Linked DNA regions of Homo sapiens: all the other regions are linked to region 3. The links are contacts of gene promoters, found by promoter capture Hi-C in blood cells and fetal thymus (Javierre and others, 2016). All regions are on one chromosome and are shown on one strand. Each heading gives the region's core, a stretch centred on a gene start or on the middle of the fragment in contact. The rest is flanking DNA. Distances are from core to core; before and after follow the strand shown.

Evidence for each region. Contacts are between HindIII fragments. The CHiCAGO score rates a contact against its expected background, and 5 or more counts as called.
Region 1: a contact is called between a fragment that was not itself captured here and the fragment with the promoter of ACVR2A in region 3, in 6 of 17 cell types (non-activated CD4 T cells, naive CD8 T cells, naive CD4 T cells and 3 more). The highest score is 8.0, in non-activated CD4 T cells.
Region 2: a fragment that was not itself captured here is called in contact with the fragment with the promoter of ACVR2A in region 3 in 1 of 17 cell types (M0 macrophages); the score reaches 6.2 in M0 macrophages.
Region 4: a fragment that was not itself captured here is called in contact with the fragment with the promoter of ACVR2A in region 3 in 2 of 17 cell types (non-activated CD4 T cells and total CD4 T cells); the score reaches 5.8 in non-activated CD4 T cells.

Annotation. Positions count from the first base shown.
Region 1 is chr2:147,297,102-147,303,099 of GRCh38, forward strand. No RefSeq gene overlaps it. Among named protein-coding and RNA genes, the nearest start is that of LINC01911, 460 kb to the left of the region's middle. RefSeq lists an enhancer at 573-682. The HindIII fragment of the contact is 458 bases long and covers 2,624-3,081 here.
Region 2 is chr2:147,066,490-147,072,295 of GRCh38, forward strand. No RefSeq gene overlaps it. Among named protein-coding and RNA genes, the nearest start is that of LINC01911, 230 kb to the left of the region's middle. The HindIII fragment of the contact is 1,520 bases long and covers 3,261-4,780 here.
Region 3 is chr2:147,842,705-147,848,362 of GRCh38, forward strand. ACVR2A (activin A receptor type 2A) reads left to right here and starts at 2,325. Exons shown (of 11, transcript NM_001616.5): 1 at 2,325-2,503. The coding sequence starts at 2,449. RefSeq lists an enhancer at 675-1,425 and silencers at 1,552-1,741, 1,822-1,931, 2,687-2,766. The HindIII fragment of the contact is 3,923 bases long and covers 1-3,549 here.
Region 4 is chr2:147,279,301-147,285,132 of GRCh38, forward strand. No RefSeq gene overlaps it. Among named protein-coding and RNA genes, the nearest start is that of LINC01911, 440 kb to the left of the region's middle. The HindIII fragment of the contact is 163 bases long and covers 4,257-4,419 here.

The DNA.
Region 1 (5,998 bases), core at 1,603-4,102, 550 kb before region 3:
TTTAACATGACGCAATTTAAGTGCAAGTTCATAAAAGAACTAGCTCCTGTCCCCATTTTTCTGTGGCATCTTATTATTTCATGTGATATAATTTGAATAATGGAGAAAGGGTGGGTCTCTGCCCAAAAACATTTTATTCACATATATTTGTTACTTAAGATCCAACTTTAGGAAATATGTTCAAAGAATTATCTCTGTTCATATATAAATATCTCTAGAAGAAGTTTGGCAGTCATTAACATTGATGACGACGGATATCAGACTTTTATAAGAGGAGGAAGATAGAGGAAAAATAGGAGTCCAGGTCCTGCTAAGGAGAGAATTCCATGACCGGGTAGCCAGGAAAAAGAAAGGAAAGCCACAATGTGAGAAAAGTACCCTGAGAGGATCAAGCTTTTCTATATCCCAATTTTGGCCAGGACTGGCTCTAACCTGTCAGGATATTGTACCTCTATCCAGATGAATAAATACTAGGAAGAAGCTTAATGTTCAACAAGGTTGGATACTCTTCTTAGGGGCTGAAAGGGAGCAACTTTGTCTGCTGGCTTTGTAGAGGGTGTATAGCCCAACTAGGCCTGACCTATTCACTCCTTTTCTAATTTTCTTATTAGTAGACAAATGTTTCCATTGATCCAGCATGTTAATTTTTTTTCCCCGAACAATAATGAAACACATGGAAAAGTCTTGTGCTTGCATAGAAAAAAGTAACACATATGAAAGAAATGAAACTTTTGATCTTAAAGTGCTTGTGCTGTGAACAACATGTGCTAAATCAAACACTTTCTGTATACCCAAACTTTAGTCTTAGATTTGGTTTGGACTAAAGTAAGTTCTATTACTCATTGTGAAATGGGTGTGTTTCCTGTTTCTCTGGAAATGGGTGCTGGTTTGCATCAAGAGGCTTCATAAAGAAAGAGAAAAACCGCAAATCACTATACATGATCAACATTTGCCATTCTACTAGCACGTTGCTACAGCTGCTTCCAGCTTTGCTGGGGTAAAACACTGACACCTGTTATTCAGCGAGGTATATGTGGGATGGATGGAGCCATGAGAGGGAAGCCACAATGCCAACATGCTGCAAATGGCATTTTATTTGTTTCTAAAATTAAATGAAAATGGTTACAACCCTAGCCAACCTTGACCTTGGGCTCTCAGGGCCAAATTTGTTCTAAAACCAAGAAATAACACCTATATCTCAAAGATTCACAGGTGGAAAGAAATGGAAGACTACTCCTACAAGCAATGATTAATTTCAAATTAGGTGAATAAAAAGGAAATAATATTTATTAAACTCCTACCACATACCTGCTAGGCTCAGGGCTTATTGACCTTTTAACATTTAACTTTCACATTACTCCCATGATAGCTGGGATTATTCTCATTTTTCAAAACAGAAATTCATGGCTCTGAAAATTTGGATCACTTCCTGAGATGACCCCACTAATGAATGGTAGGTATGAGATTTAAGGCTGGGTGCTTCTGATTTCAAAGCTCATTGCTCCATGATGCCAAAATATCCACTTTGTATCATCCTGTCTTCTGGATTTTTTGAAGACCTTACTGCCATAGTAGACCATATTCAATGCCTTTTAAAATCACATGGAGGCATGTGTGCCTTATGTTTCACAGCGAGACAGCTCCATACGTAAGTTAAAGCCTGAGCACATAGTTGCCAGGGCCCTGATAATATCACCCTGGCATAAACTGACATAGTGGTAGGCCTCCTCAATTCAAGTTCTGTCAAATCCAATGACTTAATTAAAGCCCTGGGAATGATGGGAATTTCAATAGCAGGGCACTCTGGGAGCTTTCTATAATCTAAAGCAAATACAGAAATAAAACTACAGGAGAGAACCTATCAAAACCACAATATATCTATTACCACGGCTGTTTCTTCTCAGACACTAGGCTCCCTCCTGAGCCTATTATTAAGTGCAAATGACCAGGCTCAGTTACTGTTATTTTTAAAAACATTACTTATCGTGCATTGTGTTCTGAAACTTGTTGACTTATTTTAATTTGCATAATTATAGTAATTTTCTCCTATGTCAATGCTGTAGGATTATATTAGGATTTTGCCTTTTATTTAAAGAACTTTGCAGGTTCAAAAGCACATTGTTGTCATATCACTTTTGACCCTTTCAGGCAGTTGAGAGGCAGTGATGATGGAAGAATATATTTTGCTAAGTTTACTTCTTGGCTCATGATTGGAAGAACTGGCAGAGGTTTGAGAGACCAAAAAAGGGAAACAGAAATGAAAGAGATTAGGAGAGTAAAAGAATGTAAGGAGATGTCAAAACAAAGGGAAGACAAGCTCCTCCTCTGTAGAGCTTCTTCAGAGTGTACTTTAGTGTTTATTATAACATTTGCTTTTTTTTTTTTTTTTTTTTTAGCAACTCAGGGTACTTGGTCACATTTTACAGAAAATGAACTTATGAATAATTACTCATCTAGTTTGCCTTAGAGCCAGGTTAGAAAAGAAACCTGTATCTCTCAGCTCTTGATCAAATGTTCTTCTCCATGGAATAAATACTTCGTCCAAGAAGATTTGCACAGCAAAATATTCAAAGGACTGCTAAGCTATTAGGTGTCCACCCTTACATTGTAGAATAAATCAGGAAGCTTTCCACTGTGTGATCAATTCATTTATTTTATTTTTAAGAAAAATTGTCTATATTTACTTACCATATGTCCAGTGCTTAAATTCTACTTCCCCAAGTATTTTCACAGGTACCCCCAGGTTCTTCTGGTATGTCTTGAAACCAAAAAAATAACAAACCCCTGATAACATCAAGACAGCAGGATTCAGAACTTGGCTCCTGCCCATCAATCCCAAGTCCAAGGCTGTCCAAGGAAAGTACAGTCAGGTTCACATAAAATCCAAAACACTCTCCCCGAACTCCAAAAGGGAGATGAAGATAGAAGCTCATGGCCCTAGAAGATGCCATTACCATTCTGTTCCTTATTTCTCTTTTTTCTAAAGCTCTGTGGCCCCTCAGTCAGTGGAAGGACAATCAAGCAATTGAAACAGCCCAGAAGGACATGGGAAGAAAGGGGGCAGCACAGGGACGCCAATAAAGCTTACTAGTCTTGTAGAGAAGAAGAAGGGTTTCTGCATGGGCCATCTGACCCTGCAGATGAATTTCCAACTTTCTTCTAAGCACGGTCCACTGGATCACTCATCATGCCTTCAAATGCCACAAGATCTAAGTCAAATATATCCTCTTCTCCTCTTAAGCCAGTTTTTCTTTATAATTCTAAATTATAGAATTATAATTTACTACTTACTGCAGGAAGGTTATGAGGACCAGATGAAAGAGAGAATATACAAACATCTGTAGGCACTCAGAAAAAGTTGCATCAACTCTTAAAATGATTTTTCTCATTTCCAGTGTCATCACACAAATTAAGCCTTTATTGGAACTCACACTGATAATTGCAATATGTTCTGGCTTAATGGCTCTCAAGTGCATTGGCCCTAGTGTTCTCTTCCAGTATTATACACGTATGGATGCCACAGTCAAAACATCCCTCCCTGTTATCAGAACACCCCTATGCTTCCTCCCTATTTCTCGGTTTCTTCCCTAGTATCCCCTTCCCATGGAATGTTCTGCTTTCCCTTCTCTTAGCGCATCTCGAATTTCTTTACTTCCATAAAGTCTTTGTTTGATTTTTCATATTACATCTGATACCTACCATATTGTCAGTACATTCTACTCTAAGAATTTCATTAGTGTCTTCCTTGTACCACTGTCCAATTCCTTGTGTGTTAATCATATGTCCCTGTTTCAGCTTCTGCGTCCCAGTTTAGAACTTCTTTACATCAAAGTCTTACTTATCTTTATATGCTCAGGGTCTAACATAATGCTTTCCACAAATTTTTATTGTTTTCAATGTGTTCTTGGAAATACTTTTTTTTTTTTTTTTTTGAGACAGAGTCGCGCTCTGTTGCCCAGGCTGGAATGCAGTGGTGAGATCTCGGCTCACTGCAAGCTCCGCCTCCCGGGTTCACGCCATTCTCCTGCCTCAGCCTCCCGAGTAGCTGGGACTACAGGCTCCTGCCACCACACCCGGCTAATTTTTTGTATTTTTAGTAGAGACGGGGTTTCACCATGTTAGCCAGGATGGTCTCAATCTCCTGACCTCGTCATCCGCCCACTCGGCCGGAAATACTTTTTTTAACTGATCATATAGTAACATAGGATACTATCAAATTGAATTGTAATTACTTAGGAAAGAAAACTATACAGCCAGCTTTGAGATTCCCAGAGATTACTTAAGATGTCACCAAAACATGATTGAAAAATCAGTCACTAATCTGAACCAAGGCAACTCTAAAATAAGCTATTATGTCTTAGAATAGAAATAAGAAATGTTTTAGCTACAAAAATAATAGTATTGACTTTAAATATGTTATTGAAAATAATCTCTCTTATTTGTGAATATATATTCACATATATGGTGACATATATGGCATATATATATATTCATACATATATATTGATGACATATATATATATGTGTCACCAATAAGAAAGCTGAGGCTTAGCAAGAATGAATAGTTTGTGTAAGGCAGCATAGGTAAAGAAGAGTTAAACCAAGACTCAAGACAAGCCTTTCTGTCTTCACTGGCTGTGCTTTTCTCATCACTTTGCACCAACTGCTAGAGTTTTATCAACTCTACTTATGAAAACTTCAAGTCCTTCCTGGGTTTGGGAATAGGCAAAGAAAGATTAAAATACAGCATTTCCTGAGTCACGATGTTATAATCTAGGGCTTGGCAAACTTTTGCTGTAGAGGACCAGATAGTAAATATTTTAGGCTTTGTGGACCATATGGTCTACTCAAATCTGCCATTATTCTGTGAAAGCAGCCACAGAAAATATGTGATGGAATAAGCATGGCTGTGTTCCAATAAAACTTGGGAAACTTTAGAAAAATCAGACAGTGGACCCAATCAGGCCTGCAGGGTGTAGTTTTGACCCCTGTTAAAATCTACAATAAAGGTTCACCTACTGTCATGGCAAAGACGTCGGCAAAGTGCTGTCTTGTGCTAGTATGAAACATTAATGAATTAATCATTCATATTACACTTGTATTAGATATTTAGGGCACAATACTGCATAAAACATGGAAATTGACAAAATTATACATAATTACAACTCCGAAACACATGTTATTCCCACAACAGAAAATGAGATAATCTACTAAAACACATTTTAAAAATCTGAAAGTGGAAAGCATTTCTTTCCTGCAGTTGTTTGAATTTAGAGTATGTCATTAATAGATTTTAAGTCCAGAAAATAAATGAAGCCAAATACCTATGACCTTTGGTTTCTACATTCCCACTCCTAAAATAAATGATCCATTCCAGTGAGTGTGCACTATAGTACCCCAGACTAGAGATGATTCAATAATAACCTAATCTTTCTTAAGAAGAGGATTGTGTAGGAAATCACAGCATGCAGGATATAACTTGCTCTTAATAGAGATGTTTTGTTTTCATATAAGTGAGTGGAAATATTTGACCCAACATGGCAGACAATTTATTTATAGAGAAAATGCCTCTTTCCCTTGTGAGCTGGTTGAGAGCATTCCCTGAGATCTTCAGGTTGGTCATACAATTGTGGAAAGCTCACACAATGTGAGGTTATGGCTGAGTAAAGAATAGGAGGCACACTGCTTTGCTGTCTCTCCGGGAAGCCTGCCCTAACCTCCACAGCAGAAACTCTATCTCCTTTAGATCTTCTCTTATACTCATGGTTCAGAGCCCTCATTTGTTCCTATGTACTGTCTGGTATTGTTACCCATTTATTTCAAATATATGTCTTATTTTTAGAATTAGATTGTAATCTTTGAAATGGGATACATGGGAGTCTAAACCTCAATTTCACTTTTTATTAGCTTTGTGATTGTTGCCAAACTATTCATCTTCTGTGAATCAGTTGCAGATAGTAATAGCATCTATTTCATAGGCTTTTTGTTGGCTCACATT
Region 2 (5,806 bases), core at 2,771-5,270, 770 kb before region 3:
TTATAGAATTTTGGGGAAGCAAACTCAAATATAGGAAACTCATGCTGATTCTTTGTTCTGCAGCTTAACTACCATATATTTTTTAAAACATTATTTACCCTAAGTCTTATTGTCCCAGTTGTACTGATGGGGAAGCTAATACCTACATATGTAGGTATTACATTATCTCATTAAACCTATGTAAGGTTTACTGAGATTAAATTTAAAAAAAAATTTTTTTAAAGTATTTCATAAAATAGTCATATGCAGTTCTATCAGATAGTTCCCTTTGCCAAGGCTGGAATATGTAAATGTTTTCAAATGAACAATGGGAGGCTTGAAATTATTTAATTGGTCCTTTAGCTTTTCAAAACACGCATATTTTGTTTAATTATTTCATTGAACAAATATGCATTAACAGCGCATTTCTAATTTTTAATTGCCGGGGAGAATTTTAGGTTTTGGGAATATTGTGAGGCTCAAGCCACATGGGCGACATTATTGGTGATTGGATATGGCTCCTCAGAAACAGAGTGAGCCAAGCATCATCATGACAGCAAGGCACAAGGTATACATAAATCTTTCATTCATGTAAGCCTCTCAAACTATACATTAAACCCAAATTCCAAGTTAACTGATATACTAGAACTGTTATGCTGCTCCAAGAATGCTTTGTAGAGTAGCACTGTTCTGTAAAAATAACTTTGTCTTATATTAAAAAAAAAAAAAAGCCCTGAAAGATCCTGGAATGCCATTTCTTTCCAAAAGAGTAGCCATATTTGAATTTTCTTAGCAGCTTGCTGAGAGAGTGCAAAGCTAACAAGAATCAAAACAGACTCTTTACATAGTTTGTTTGGGTCTAGAGGAAATCTGTCCATGAGCTTTTGTGAAGGGGCCAACATGTCAGCATATGCCTGACTACAGTGAGTTTATCTTTCAATTGATTTAGTCCATTCTGGGGAATCGAGATGATGCAAGAGTATGGCACATAACCAAAAGCTTTCTCTTTTCATTGACAGAAGTGACAGAAATATCCTTACTCTTACAGATCACTTGATCAGAAATAATAGAGTCAGATACTCTATTGTTTAGATTACTATTACTGTTATTTTGTTCATATTTTAAGATGTTATTAACATATGATGTAATCTTTGTAACAGTAATGTTACAAAATCACTGGTGAAGAATGGGATGGACCCCATAATTCTGTTGTTCTGAAGTTTACATATAATTTCATGGAACATATGTCCTATTAATGGAGGCTTTGGATGACTAGAAATGCTCATAACTGAGCTGCAAAGGTGGTGGACATACTTTCTGAGGTGTGTCACAAAAAAAAAATTTCAAATTGGGTGTTCCAAGAAAGTTTTGTTCTCTATTCAAATTTTTTATTTCTTTGAAATCTAATGGTAAACATATAGAACAGGAGTATGAATTAAGGTTAACCTGAGATTAGGCAGCTGACTTGAGGACACCTTAGGCTTCTATTTCTTCATGTTCTTTTATAATTTCTCCAGGTTATTTTTGCAAACCAAAGACACAGAACTCTAGAGAACATGACAGCAGGTGTCAGAGGGGTTCAGCTCACATCTGACTAGAGCAGCCATGCCCAGCAGGCTTTTCCTCATATAGAAACATAAGTGAAACACCTCTGGGACCACAGAAACTTGTGGAGTTGGGGAAATGTGGAGAGTGCCAAGATCTCACAGAAGCAATAGAAGAATGTTGAGACACTGACTGAAATTCCAATGCAAGGTAGTATAAATCCCAATGCAATCTTATTCCTATCCACAGGCTGGTGAAACCTGATAGCATATGGTTATACATAGAGTCAACAAATATTACTTGAGAAGTTAATAATTAACGTGTTCAAAATATATGTGTGTGTGTGTGTGTGTGTGTGTCTGTGTATGTGTGTGTGTGTCAATTCTAGGAGATACTCATTTTAAAACGAGAGACTAGGGTCTAACCACTTGGCATATACTAATCTTGTTTCTAGTTGAGCTTCTACTGAATGATATTGAGTCTCTGAATAAAACATATAGAATACCTCAGTTTTTTTATTATTATTTTATTTAATTAATTAATTTATTTTCTTTTTAGAGACAGAGTCTTGACCTGTTGTCCAGGTTGGAGTGCAGTGGCATGATCATGGCTCACTGCAGCCTCGAACTCCAGGGCTCAAGCAATACTCCCACTTCAGCCTCCCAAGTAGCTGGGACTATAGGCTTGCCCCACCATACCCAGCTGATTTTTTTTTTTTTTTTGGTAGAGACAGGATTTCATTATGTGGCCAAAGCTGGGAAAGCCCCAGGTTTTAATTCTGGCTTTCTTAACCTTTCTTGGGTATGATTGTGTTTTTCCACTTATACTGGGTATATTCTTCAGCTATAGAATACAATAACTCGAGAAAATAGACACTGAAGGAAACTTGCGCACCTTCATTTTGAATACCAGGAAACAAAACGTATCCCAGGCCCATCACAATCAATATGGTTCCCTCTCCCTTTCTACCTTGTTGCTTCCAGCTGTTTGTCTTCAAGCAAATGCTATGTCTGATCATCAGGATTATTAAGGAAGTCAATTATCAATTAGCAAAACCTTAATTAACTGCTCTCCCTTTAGCACCTGGAAACTCTTGGCTCTCCACCATGTTCTTCTGCTCATTGCCCCCAAAAGTACTCTTCCCACATCTTCTTTATCCCTAAGTCACTCTTGCTATCAGCTTTGCCTGAGATGCAGCCTTCCCTGACCTCTTTGTGTTTCCTCCATCACATTATTCTAATGATCTTTTCTCTCCTTGATACTCAAGTAGAGTCTTGTGCCAAAGTTATGAGGTGGAAAGAAACATAACATGTTCCATACCTCTAGAAACTAAATGTAGCTGGTGTATGGCCATGCGGTTTTACTCAGGATGAATTAGAGAAATAGGGTTTAGTTAGATAACATCTTACAGTTCACCAGTTAAAAAAAAAAAAACTAAACTTTTATCCCAAGCACAATTCAATGTCGTTGTAAAATGAGAGGCATACACAATATATGCTGAACATTAATGAAGGAAAGAGACCATATGAGCTGTGTAAGGGAAGATTTCACAGAGAAAAGAGCCTTTAAGGACGGGTAGGATATGCATTGCCAAAAAAGAGGCAGAGATGTCATGGATATAAAAGTCATGTCTGGATGATGCTAAATCAGTAATTCTGGCTGGAATGATGTTTGGGGAGAGTAGTGAAGGATAGGAGTAAAAAGCCAGAGTGGAGCCATCCTATGAAAGTCTTTGAAGCTTGGACTGATGAATTTGTACTTGATCCTCAGAACCAGGCTTCTCCCATGCCTTTTACTTATTTGTCTCCCAGAATCAGCTTTGGGTCCTATTTGCTCTCCTTATCCATCTGCCTCATGGTGAAGAGGTGCATGCATCTGTTCTGAGATTCCTGTCAATTTCTCCATGAGGCAGATGGTCTATTTCTGATTCCAGACTTTGCCAGACCCCCCTGAGTTTTTCATCCTCTAGCCCCGGGGATTTATTGCCAGTGTAGCAACAGATACCATGTGGCAGATGAGTGTAAAGAATAAGTTTCAGTAGATGTATTCACCAAGGGGCCATTCCAGCTCATTAGCTCATGTCCTTTTTCAAAAGGTAGTGTCTTCTTACCAAAAGATGGAATGGCTAAGAGGAAGATTAATGCAATTTAAATTGGGATTAATGTAAATTATTTTATTGATTCTCCTTAGATTATTTTAATCACTTAGTTTTTCTCCCCTACAATGATTTTATTATTACATTCATCCATTTTGGATGGACCAAGAGACAAAGAAAGTTATTGGATGTGTCCATTTTTGAAACTGGCACCTATTACAGATCTAAATCAAGTATCATTAACATCAGACCCCAAATTTTCTAGTCTGTCTCTTCAGCAATAATCAAAGCAATGTGGGTCAGCCAGAGCTAGAATCTCCTCTTGTCTAGCTGCGTTATGAACTTTAACCAGATCTCACCTATACCAATATGATACATTGTGTCTTGCTAAGCTGTTCATCATCTAAACCAGCTATGATATTTCCTTAAGTTCCATAGCAAAAAACTGCTTTTGGGTCTCTAACCTACGATCACAAACTGTATACCAACAGTTGCTGGCCAAGGAGAACCAACCAAAACTGGGCTGAAATCAGTATAAATTAATTCTTTGCTTGAAAATATAAAATCCCTAAATCCTTTCCCTAGAGATGGTAAGCCAATGACAGTTCTATGTGCAGAAGAGTTGTAGATGTATTTAGTGCACAGAATTAGATTTTCTCCAGCTACAGGAAACCATATGACTTGACCACCAAGTATAATGTCAATGGTCACTTTTATTTTAAAGTCCACAGTTACTAAAAATCACTTAATTAGAATGCATTCAAACTTGGTCTCAAAAACACTGCTCTCATAGATGCGACAGGACAGATTTCTCTCCAGTTGGAATGGGATTTTTGCTGGTAACCAGGCACAGGAGTTTCAAGACTTGTAACAGAGTACTGAGAGTGAATGAATGATGTCCCTGATAATTTTTTTTTAGACAACCCCAAGCCTGGCCTTTCTTTCATTAATGGGTTCAGTTGGAAGGTAGACCTGGGAAAGGCAAGGGGAAAAGAAAGGAATGGGAGGAGAGGAGTATTCTACTTAGAAATAAAATCTATACTCATTTACAACTGAGAATGTCATCTTTCTTTGGTAAAGGATTAAAAAAATTCTCTTTTTAAAAGATTATAATATTTCCTCTTTTCAGAGTTCAATAAGATATCCACCAGTTTCTTCTAAAGCTTTTGAGACCTTGCTTCAAACACACCACTGAAGAACTAAGTATTCTTAAATATCATAATGCTATTTTTAAAACTAAGAAAAGTTTTTTATTTGAAGATTATTTTTTTAAAAGCAGAATAAAAACTTGGCCTAGAGTCCTGAAAATTTACTTTTTATAATACTCAACTCCCAGAGCAGATCTTCATCTCATTTCACATTCAATATTAGAATCTCACCATTTCCATTTAAGCAAGATTTAATAAAATGCATGCTGATTTTACAGTTAAAATAGTGGGAAAAAAATAGTTGAAACAGCGGCAGAGTTCCCCCTTTTGTCATTTTCATTCTTCCTTAAAAAGGAATCAGGCAGAGAATCCACACATGGGTGTACACATGTACACACACACACACAAACATTTTCCTTTTGAGTCCCTGACGCTCATGGTCTAAGGAAATTTATTTAACATTTTACATAGCTCAAGAGGTATCTCTTCTCAGTGTTTGAATTCTACTGAGGAGAACATAAGAATGCTTTTTTTTTTTTTAAAAAAAAAATAGATTTAGGGAGTACAAGTGCAATTTTCTTACACAGGTATATTGTTTAGTGGTGAAGTCTGGGCTTTTAGTGTATCCATCCTCTTAACAGCAAACACTGTACCCAAGATGTATTTTTTTAATTCTTGTCTCCCTCTCATCTTCCCACCTTTTGGAGTCTTCAGTGTCTAATTTTTCCCCCTTGTATGTTCATGTGCACCCATTATTTAGCTCCTACTTATAAGTGACAACATACATTATTTGGCTGTCTGTTTCTGGGTTATTTCACCTAAAATAATCGCCTCCAGTTCTGTTGCTGTAAAGGACATGATTTTATCCTTTTCTATGGTGGAGTGCTATAGATAGATAGATAGATAGATAGATAGATAGATAGATAGATAGACAGACAGACAGACAGATAGATAGATAGTGTGTATATATATATATATATATACACACATATATAAGTATATATAAGTATACTTATATATATGTATATATATTCTTTTC
Region 3 (5,658 bases), core at 1,075-3,574:
AGTGGGGCCTGACCCTAACTGACATCAAATTCTCTAATGAACTTCAAGTGTTTCTAGAGTAAAATATACTCTTCCATTCCAGAACCGTTAGTACAACTCTTAATTCAACCAGAAAATGGAAGGCTTACACATATTCCTTTGACCAACTCATAAAGATAGGAGAACTACATGAGATCATTCAGACACCTTTAATACCGACTTGGGACTTTGTAACTGTTCCAACATCAGTCAAATTCTGAGCATCACGATTTGAGAACTGGCAATCTTGGAGAGATTTAAAGAGCCACGTTGATTATTAATAACCCTGATAAGTTGTAGAAATGGGCAGATAATTACAGGATGAACTTAATAGACAGAAATACAGAGTAATTTAGAGGAAGTAAACTGCTGTAAATATAAGTGAGAAGACTTGGCTTTGTGGGAAAAGGTGGGAATCAGTAAACCACAAATGAAACATGAATTAGCCATATTATACAGTTGTTTTATTAAAAACCAAAACTTTGTAGAGTACATTAACAGAGACTGTATTTAAGAGAAAGGCAGTCATCCCTTAGTCATTTATACAATTATTTATTAAGCACTTATGTGCTAGTTGATACTTCTGGGTGCTGGAATAAAATAAGGAAAAAATCAAGATCTCTACCTTCACGAAGCTCACTAAAGTGTGGTAAATGACAGAGCAACTACCTTCAATAGTCTCTAGTTTGTATTCTGCAACCAACTGAATACAGCAAATACTAAAAGCTACTTGAGGTAGGGATCCATCCTATTTTTACCTGTTGGATCCCATTCCGTGCCTAGCACACCAGCTTGTAAGCAATCGACATGGATTAAGGGGTAAAAACAGGCCCTTAAATAGCTAAAATTTTGACAAGTAATCACTTGTCTGATCATCAAATATGTCGTTCGAAATCCTCATTTTTTTCTTCAAAGCGCAGTAAACAAGTATTTGCGCACCTATTACGTGCAAAACAGTTTTCAACACAATGCTTTGTGTGTAAAAGGAACGGCGGGAATGGATTCAAGTTGCGCATCGTGATAAATGGCGTGAATATCCTGAGCGGGTGGACAGCCCTTCCTCCGTGAGTTTTTTCTTTTTCTTTTCTAGTCACCAAGACAGCACGCGTGTGCAGAAGCTGCAGCGGTGGGACGCAGTGCTAAGTCTGGGGGCGCACACACCAGCTCGCGCGTCGCGAGCTCGCCTGGGCAGCTCGGCGGGCGCGGCGAAACAGCTCCCACGTCCGCCTTCCACCGACTCCTCGGTATCAGAGCGGACGAGGCGTCCCCCCAGAGGAAAGACTGGGCGCCGCAGACGCCCCTTGGAGAAGTCCCTGGCCACTCGCCCCACCTCGGGGTCCTCTTCCTCTTGGGCTTCTCCTGACCCTTTGGGTGGGCGCTCCAGACAGGCCCGTCGGACGCGATTTGGAAACGGGTCGTGCCCGGCCTAGCCCGCATCTACTCGCCCGGCCACAGCCCAGCCACAGCTTAGGGACTTTGAGGCGCCCGCGCCCCTTTGTCGCGGTATCTCTAGCCCAAGCAGGCCGGACGCCGAGGCCTCGCGGTATCGAGCCTCCGTCCGCCCCGCCTCCTCGCCCTCCACTCCGCCCCGCCCTCGCTCTCTCACCCCTCCCCCGCTCCCGCCTCGCTTCCCCGACAATCTCCTCGCGCTCCCGGCCCGGCACGCGCGCTGCGCCCGGCCGCCGCTGCCGCCGCCGCCGCCGCCGCCGCTGCCGCCGAGCGTTCCTCCGCTGCGCCTGGCTTCCAGCTTCGGGCCGGAACCGGAAGTTTGGGGGGCGGAGCCCGGCGGAGGCCAGGAGACCGAAAACGCGGCCGAGCCCGGAGCCCGGAGCTGGAGCCAGAGCCTGGACCAGAACTTGGCCGCCGCCTGCACCGCCGCCGCCGCTGCCGCCCGCCGCCCCTTCCCCGCGCCGCAGCCGCCTCGCCGCCACCGCCGCGAGCTCGGCCGCCAGTGGTCCTCGGACTTTAGGTGTCTGGGTTGAAGGTCGGTCCGGACATCGGACCCAGTCAGTTCCCAGACTGTCCGGGCGGCAGCGGACGCCGCTGCCGCCGCCGCCTCTTCGTCGCCTCAGCCTGGCGTTTTGTTCCGAGAGACGGGAGAGGCGAGCGGAGCTGACAGTGATTTTGACAGTGATTTAAACCCGCTTTTGTTGTTGTTGGCTTTTCGTTGTTTGGTTTTGTGTGTTGTGCGTGTGTGTGGCGGTTTTTCCCCCGTGGTGCATTTTATTTTTTATCGTTGTGCTCTTTTTTTTCTTTTTTTTTTTTAACCCAGTGAGCGTTTTTTTTTTTTTTTTTTTTTTTTTTTGGTCTGGGCTTCCGAATATGTTTTATGACGGTTGATTTTACACCAGGAGGTTTGTCTCCGAGGAAGACCCAGGGAACTGGATATCTAGCGAGAACTTCCTCCGGATTCCCCGGCGCCTCGGGAAAATGGGAGCTGCTGCAAAGTTGGCGTTTGCCGTCTTTCTTATCTCCTGTTCTTCAGGTAGGTGCAGGGAGCGCGGCGCGGTGGGGCTGCTCCTGCGGCCGCGGCGGCCGCTGCTGGGGGCCGCGGCTGGTGTTGAGTCGGAGAGTCCAGTGGAGCCTGGGGAGGTTGCCCACTCCCTGCGCCCCTCGGCTGCCACCGCCCCCCCCCCCCGCCCCCAGGTCTGATTGTGATCTGGAAACCTCCATGCATTTTTCTCTTTTTGAGTTGGGTCGGCGAGCTGATAAGAGTGAGTGCTGTGTTGTTGTGGAAGTGAGAAAGTCATGTTTTGTGGCCATAACACTGGATGACAGCGCTGGTTGGGTTGCAATTAAGCCGCAAATACCACAAGTGACAATTTATGCAAAGGTTGAGATCTGAAAGGAGTATTTAGTGTGGGCTCCTCCAAAACAAGGGTTGCTTTTTGTCATCGTTTAATTAGTGCTTCACCGGTGAATATCACGACATAGATCAAGCCAGTTGCTGCTTAATTTTGGCTGTGGGAAACAATACATCCTATCAGCAATTTAATCTGGGTCTCCCCTCACGTTTTCTTCAACTTCAGCGTCCAGCAGTGTTAAAAATAGTTGTAGTTGTTGTTGGAGTATTAACTATAACCCAGTGCAGAAGAGGTATGCCGCTTGGTATTGGTAATGTGCTGGCGTTCAACCACCATTTGTGTGCTCTTTTGGGGCATAGATTTTGCTTACCTACGGAATACTTATTTTAAACGCTTTGTATTGAAGCATTGTTTTCGGTTTAGAACAACCCATGTGAAATTGTTTTTGTTAAATATAGTACACTCATAAAATAGGTTTTAGCTCAAGGTTGGGGGAATAAACGGGCCATTTTATATTGGAAATTTTGATTTTGTGAGGACGTTCTATGGTTGCAACCAGTGGTTGGAAAAACTATCTAGTCTTTTGTATTTGAAATTCTATAAATAAATACAGCATCTAGCTGAAAGGTGTGCAGATGTACATAACAGGAGAGTTAGTTCAATAGATGAAACATTTTAAATAAGTCTCATTGGATCTATTTATTGTAAAATTTAATATTCAGTTACAAGCTTGTGGCATAGAATTACGGGGGACTCTTGGAAACGGGGGCGAATTGACAGGTTTCATGGCCATGTCTTTATCTCGTTTGCCACAGGAAAATTAAAGGGTGGTAGTCTTCTTTGTGTACCTCTGTGGGGTGTGTGTGTGTGTGTTTGTGTGTTTGTGTCCGTCTTCCCCACCCCCCTTTAAATATAATCTTTTGTAATGTATAGAATTTTGCTGAATGGTACATTTCCTTGTGGTTAATAAATGGATAAAGTCTAGTCTTATGTCTGTAGTGGTATTGATCAGTTCCGGGTGGGCTGAATGTGTTGTGAAATGGCGATCATTGCCAGAGATTAACCAAAAGAATCATGTCTGTTTAAATGGAAGAAGGAACATGCTTAAGGCAGGCTGACAGTTCTTTTTGTGCACGGTTTGGGAAGGAAGCTAAACAATGGTGTGTCTGAAATGAATGAAGGCCTTGATAACATTAAACCTCTTGCTTTTGTGACATGACTTAACCATGTAGTTTTTATCTTTCCAGTAGTACTCTTTTTTCCTCTGCTTCTATATGTTGTGGCTGGTGAACTCCTCTTGTTCAAATCCCTTGTTCTGATCTCTTGCCCTTGAGGAGGAGGGGCATCATGGCCACTGACCAAGGAATTGTGGACATTATTCCCTCTCAAACCCACCTGAGTCACACTAATTGATGAAGGAGGTTATTCTTGAGCAGTCTCAAGGTATTACTTCTTGAAAAGCAGGCTGTCGCTACAGATCTTACAGCTTCTTCTGCTTGGTTTGGTAGTAAAAATAATTGAGCATTAGTTTCTTGTGGGATTATTTTCATTGGGCCAGGATTATTTTCAGTGGGCCAGGAGGTTAATAGCTATAATTTTGAAATAAAGTGATTTTGTTGCTGTAGGGCATATAGATATTCCACTTATATTAAACTAATATTATGTTGTTGCATAGGCTTTTTAAGATGAACATTCCCAGTTGAACTAAAATATGTGATTCTGTTGAAGATAATTGAAATAATCATAAAGACCTTAATCCATATTTATACATGAACAATTTGAGTACTTAAAATGTCTGATTTTTAAAAGCCTTTTGTTATGGATCAGATGCACTCTAAAAAAGGATTATTATGTTTCTCCAACTAATTGATTTTTCTACAAAATGTGTGATCTGACATGTTGGAAGCATGAGGTGACTATTTTTATGAGAATTTTAAAAATTCTCAGGTTGTCAGTTTTTCATTTCTAGATATTTGATTTTTTTTAAAAATCAAAATGGGAAACAATAGTAAGGAACAGTTTTGTTCCAGGTGTTTAGGAGGGATGTTTACTATTTCGTGGACTCTGATTTTTCAGTTTCCATCCCATGGTATGTATTCTGGAGACTGATTATGCAGACTATTCCTGTAGGATATGGCCAAGTGTATAATTTCCTCCTCTCTCTCATTCCAGGGGAAACATTTTAAATTTTGCCCCTATCCTGGAGTGCCTTCAGATTACCTTTGATTTTGAATTTTTTCATTCCTCTCATACTTTCTCAGATTCTGTTTCAAAACATAAATCTTAGTTTTCTTTTTATAGCATTGTGGTTTATTTGTGTCTTTCCCCACAGTTTGTTGAAGTATGAGAATGACTTTAATACTTGCTTTAGTACTTAGATTTATCCTATCTAGAGTTATGCAGCTATTGTGGTATTTGAGTTGCATAGAAGTAAGTTGAGAATTCCTTTGGATTTTGTGGGAGCTGGAGCAGTATGGTCAATGTATTTGATGAAAGAGGAAATGGAAATATGGTAATTATGTTTTCTTCAGTTCAGCTAGGCAGTACTGTGTATGTGTGAATGTATGTGTGGTTGGAGGGGGAGTTAGCATTACAGAGAATCTTTTGGGATTCTTTTGAACTTTGATTAACAAGTGATGGATGATAAATACTTTGTTTTCTAAAAGGCAGAATCTCTTATAAATGGTGTCTGTGGTCAAATTCAAATATAATACATTGAAACATGGAGACTAGAAACAAAATGAAACAAAATTCTCCCTCCATTCATTTTCTATTTTTTTTTCCTGTTTATGATCTAAGCCAACAGTTCTCAAGCTGGGGTGAGTCCCCCTCCCTA
Region 4 (5,832 bases), core at 3,088-5,587, 560 kb before region 3:
AAAAATACGAAAAAAAAAATTAGATGGACATGGTGGTGCTCACCAGTAATCCCAGCTACTTGATGCTGAGGCACAAGAAGAATCACTTAAACCCGGGAGGCGGAGGTTGCAGTGAGCCAACATCACACCACTGCACTCCAGCCTGGGCAACAGAGCAACACCCTGTCTCAGGAAAAAAATGAAAGAAAGAAAAATCACATTTTATTTATTTTATTTATTTAGAGACAGAGTCTCGCTCTGTTGGCCAGGCTAGAGTGTAGTGGCATGATCTCGGCTCACTGCAACCTCTGTCTCCCAGGCTCAAGCAATTCTCCTGCCTCAGCCTCCTGAGTAGCTGGGATTACAGGTGTGTGCCACCACACCCGGGTAATTTTTGTATTTTTAGTAGAGGCAGGGTTTCACCATGTTGGCCAGGCTGGTCTCGAACTCCTGACCTCGGGCAATCTGCCTGCCTTGGCCTCCCAAAGTGCTGGGATTACAGGCGTGAGCCACCGCACCCGGCCATAAAAGATCACATTTTAAATATCCATTGAGAAGAAATCTCTGTTGGGTATCCAAACCATATCATGAATTAGCAATGAAAGGCTTGACTTTTGATCATGCATAAACATATATTTAAAATAATCTTTCACAGCTAATGAGGCTAATTATATGTACTAACTAATCTTCCTCTGAAAAGCAGGGCTTGCAACTGAATTATGACACCACTGTTGAGTTCTGGCTTTCCAAATACTACCACACAACTGTTGATTAGGCAAAGCTGAGTTCATTGCTTACAACATAAGGCAGGATGCCCCTCCCCTACAAAAGTGCCTTGGCAGTGTCCCAATTTATTGGGAATTGGAAGTTTGGGTTAAGGTAGGTCTTTCAATTTGGAGGTTGTGGACAGTAGTACAAGCAAGATGGGGTTGGTTAGGATTTGGTGAAGATCATGAAACAGCAAGGCAAGGATTTTTGAGATTAAGAATTCAAAGAATTTGAGGATGCAAACTGTATGTTGATGTTTTCCATGAAAAGTTAAACCCAATAGCCTGGGCAAGAGTTTCATAGAAAAAGTAAGTTATGTTAATGCAGACAGTAAGTTATGAGGAGTAAATGGTCTTAGTTTTCAGTGTCTAAGCTTTGTGGAGCATCAGGCCACTGATTTTGGTTCTTATATACTACCAGAAAGTGAAATCCTTCAGGAAGGAACCTTCTACTACAAGTGCCTAGTAAGCACCTGGTACTCAATAAATGTTTGTCAGCTGCCCCACTGGATGGATTGATGGATGGATGGGCGGGTGGATGGATGAATGAATGGATGGATGGATGGGTGGATGTATGAATTCATAATGGTTTTATCTGCAGAATCACAGAAGGATCCAGTCAGAATCGGGGGCTATCCAATATTTTCTCATATGGCAAAGAATTTTGTAGTTATAATACAAAGCCAACAGGAAAGGAGGTTTCTGGTGGGTCATAGGGAGAGTAAGTTGCTACAGTATAAATTATAAAATTTCAGTCTGAAAAGGAGATGGGGCTCCTTCTGTAAAAAATCAGTTTAGAGTGTTCTTAAATGCCAGACATGCAGACAACAAAAGCGTTTGACAGGATTATGATCTCAGAGTCAGCGTAGGGTAGATCAATATGGGGGAGTGAATGCCATCTCCAAAAACACTACATCTTGGCGTATGTTTATGATTTACATTAGCCCCAAGAGAAATCAGAGGGGAAGAAGTCTTCAATTTGACTGTATTTAAAATCAACATCACTGAGAAACCACTAAAACTGTAAGTAGCTAAATGAAGTTTTCTGCTTCAGACTGAAAAGGGGGCTCAAGATGAAAATTGTCTAGTTAACAGCTGAATTCTACCAGAGGTACAAAGAGGAGCTGTTGCCATTTTTTTCTGAAACTATTCCAAACAATTGAAAAGGAGAGACTCCTCCCTAACTCATTCTTGGAGGCCAGCATCATCCTGATACCACAACCTGGAAGAGACGTAACAAAAAAAAAGAACACTTCAGGCCAATATCCCTGATAAACAATGATGCAAAAATTCTCTGCAGCACACCAGCATGGCACATGTATACATATGTAACTAACCTGCACAATGTGCACACGTACCCTAAAACTTAAAGTATAATAATAAAAGAAAAAAAAATTCTCAATAAAATACTGGCAAGCCAAATCCAGCAGCACATTAAAAAGCTTATCCACCACGATCAAGTCGGCTTCATCCCTGGGATGCCAGGCTGGTTCAACATACACAAATCAATAAACGTAATCCATCACATAAACAGAACCAATGACAAAAACTACATGATGCATCTATTGACAAATGATGCAGAAAAGGCCTTCAAAAAAATTCAACATCGCTTCATGTTAAAAACTCTCAATAAACTAGGTATTTATGGAACATATCTCAAAGTAATAAGAGCTATTTATGACAAACCCATAGCCGAAATCATACTGAATGGGCAAAAAGTGGAAATAGTCCCTTTGAAAACTGGCACAAGACAAGGATAACCTCTCTCACCACTCCTATTCAACATAGTATTGGAAGTTCTGGCCAGGGCAATCAGGCAGGAGAAAGAAATAAATGCATTCAAATAGGAAGAGAGGAAGTCAAATTGTCTTTGTTTGCAGAAGACACGATTGTATATTTAGAAAACCCTATCATCTCAGCCCAAAACTCCTTAAGCTGATAAGCAACTTCAGGAAACTCAGGATACAAAATCAATGTGCAAAAATCACAAGCATTCCTATACACCAACACTAGACAAGCAGAGAGGCAAATCATGAATGAACCCTCATTCACAACTGCCACAAAGAAAATAAAATACCTAGGAATACAGCTTACAAGAGACATGAAGGACCTCTTCAAGAACTACAAACCACTGCCCAAGGAAATAAGAGAGGACACAAACAAATGGAAAAATATTCCATGCTCATGGATAGGAAGAATCAACATCATGAAAATGGCCATACACCCAACATAATTTATAGATTCAGTGCTATTCCATCAAACTACCATTGACTTTCTTCACAGAATTAGAAAGAAACTACTTTAAATTTCATATGGAACCGAAAAAGAGCCCATATAGCCAAGACAATCCTAAGCAGAAAGAGCAAAGCTGGAGGCATCACGCTACCTGATTTCAAACTATACTACAAGGCTACAGTAACCAAAACAGCATGTTACTGGTACTAAAAGAGGCATATAGACCAATGGAACAGAACAGAGACCTCAGAAATAACACCACACATCTACAACCATCTGATCTTGGACAAACCTGACAAAAACAAGCAAAGGGGAATGGATTCCCTATTTAATAAATGGTGCTGGGGAAACTGGCTAGCCATATGTGGAAAACTGAAACTGGGCCCCTTTCTTACACCTTATACAAAAATTAATTCAAGATGGATTAAAGACTTAAATGTCAAGCCCAAAACTATTAAAAACCCCAGAAGAAAACCTAAGGAATACCACTCAGGACATAGACATGGGCAAAGACTTCATGATGAAAACACAAAAAGGAATTGCAACAAAAGCCAAAATTGCCAGGTGAGATCTAATTCAACTAAAGAGCTTCTGCACAGCAAAATAAACTAGCATCAGAATGAACAGGCACCCTACAGAATGGGAGAAAATTTTTGCAATCTACCCATCTGACAAAGGTCTAATATCCAGAATCTACAAGGAACTTAAACAAATTTACAAGAAAGAATGAACCCCATCAAAAAGTGGGCAAAGTACATGAACAGACACTTCTCAAAAGAAGGCATTTATGTGGCCAACAAATACATGAAAAAAGTTCATCATCACTGATCATTAGAAAAATGAAAATCAAAACTGCAATGAAATACCATCCCACACCAATCAGAATGGCATTTATTAAAAAGTCAGGAAACAATAGATGCTGGTGAGGCTGTGGAGAAATAGGAATGCTTTTACACTGTTGGTGGGAATGTAAATCAGTTGAACCATTGTGGAAGACAAGGTGGTGATTCCTCAAGGATCTGGATCCAGAAATACCATTTGACCCAGCAATCCCATTACTGGGTATACAACCAAAGGAATATAAATCCTTCTACTATAAAGACACATGCACACATATGTTTACTGCAACACTATTTACAATAGCGAAGACATGGAACCAACCCAAATGCCCATCAGTGATAGACTAGATAAAGAAAATGTGGTACATATACACCATGGAATACTAGGCAGCCATGAAAAAGAATGAAATTACGTTTTTAGAAGGGACATCAATGAAGCTTGAAGACATCATCTTCAGCATACTAACACAGGAACAAAAAAACCAAACACTGCATGTTCTCAGTCATAACTGGGAGTTGAACAATGAGAACACATGGACACAAGGAGGGGAACAACACACACCAGGGCCTGTTGCGGGGTTGGGGGCAAGGGAAGGGAAAGCTTTAGGACAAATACCTAATGCATGCAGGGCTTAAAACTTTGATGATGGGTTGATAGGTGCAGCAAACTACCCTGGCACATGTATACCTAGGTAACAAACAAGCACATTGTATACATGCATCCTATAATTTAATGTAAAATAAAAAAAATTTGTCTAGTTACAGAAACATAAAGAAAGTAATATTTTGGCATCTCTGTGACTCACGCAGTTTGTACACTGCTACATAACATACATTTTCTCTCCAATAAAAGGGTTCAGCTCCAAAAATCCCTGTGTCAGGAGAATTCACATTTCCAAAAATAAGTATAAATAAATAAGCTTTTAAGAGAAAGTTAAGACTGGCCCATCAAGGTTGTGGATTAACCTATGAAAGTTTTTATAAGTATAGTTTTTTTCTTTATTGAAAGCCAAACAATAAAGAATAGCATAATAAAACATCTCCCCAGCATTTTCAACAACATACCTGTGTATTTATTATGCCTTATGGTAGACAATATGCCTCGGCCCTGCCCTATACATATTATACTCCACATAAGTTACAAGGCTTTCTGGGTAGGTGAATGACTCCTTGACTCCTGTCTCCTGAATCACACAGTGACCCTAAAGAAGTACAGTAACTTGGCTGGAAAAAGCCTTAGGCAACTTTTATTTCAGTTACTACGCATATCAAAAAGTTACCTCTTAGGGCTTCCTTATACTCACTCACAGAACTTTAGCTCTGCTTATGGGGCTAGAACACATTCACCTCTCCTTCCTCCAGCCAATATGATGCAATTCTAACTTTGCTTCAGCCACCTTAATTTCTCCCAAAGCTGCATTTTAAAAACCATTCTCCTGCTCTGCCACCTGCTTTACTTCTTTTTTGCCTTTTCAAATTCGCAAGTCCTTACTCCCTCTTTTTCAAATTATCCCCAACAGGTGTGCATCTAATCAAAGTAAGATTTTCCTGATTGTGGAAAAGTGTACAAAAGTAAATTCACAGATGTACAATTTCATGAAAGAGAAATTGAATTTGGCAAGGGCTTTTTATAAATGCAATTATGTGTGAAAAGTGCTACAGTAGTGCTGTGGACAAAGTGCTAGGGAACCATTTGAAAAAACTTTTAAGCTTAAGCACCAGGCAGCTGGAGTCAAGAACAATTTCTTGTGGTAGAAACCTTTGCCAAGAGAATTCACATTTCTACATAATAAGTCTTTAAGGAAAACATAAGATTGGAAAACCAAGGTTCTGCGTGAAACTATGAAAGTTATTGTAACTAACTTTCAGTAGAGACTGGCTCTGTGCTTATAAATCTGCTGATAAGAAAACTACAGTCAAATTAACATGTTTCATTTACTTATCCATTCATTCAACAAATATTATTAAGAGCCTAATATACTCTTACTTCTGTGTTGAGTACTGGCAATGTA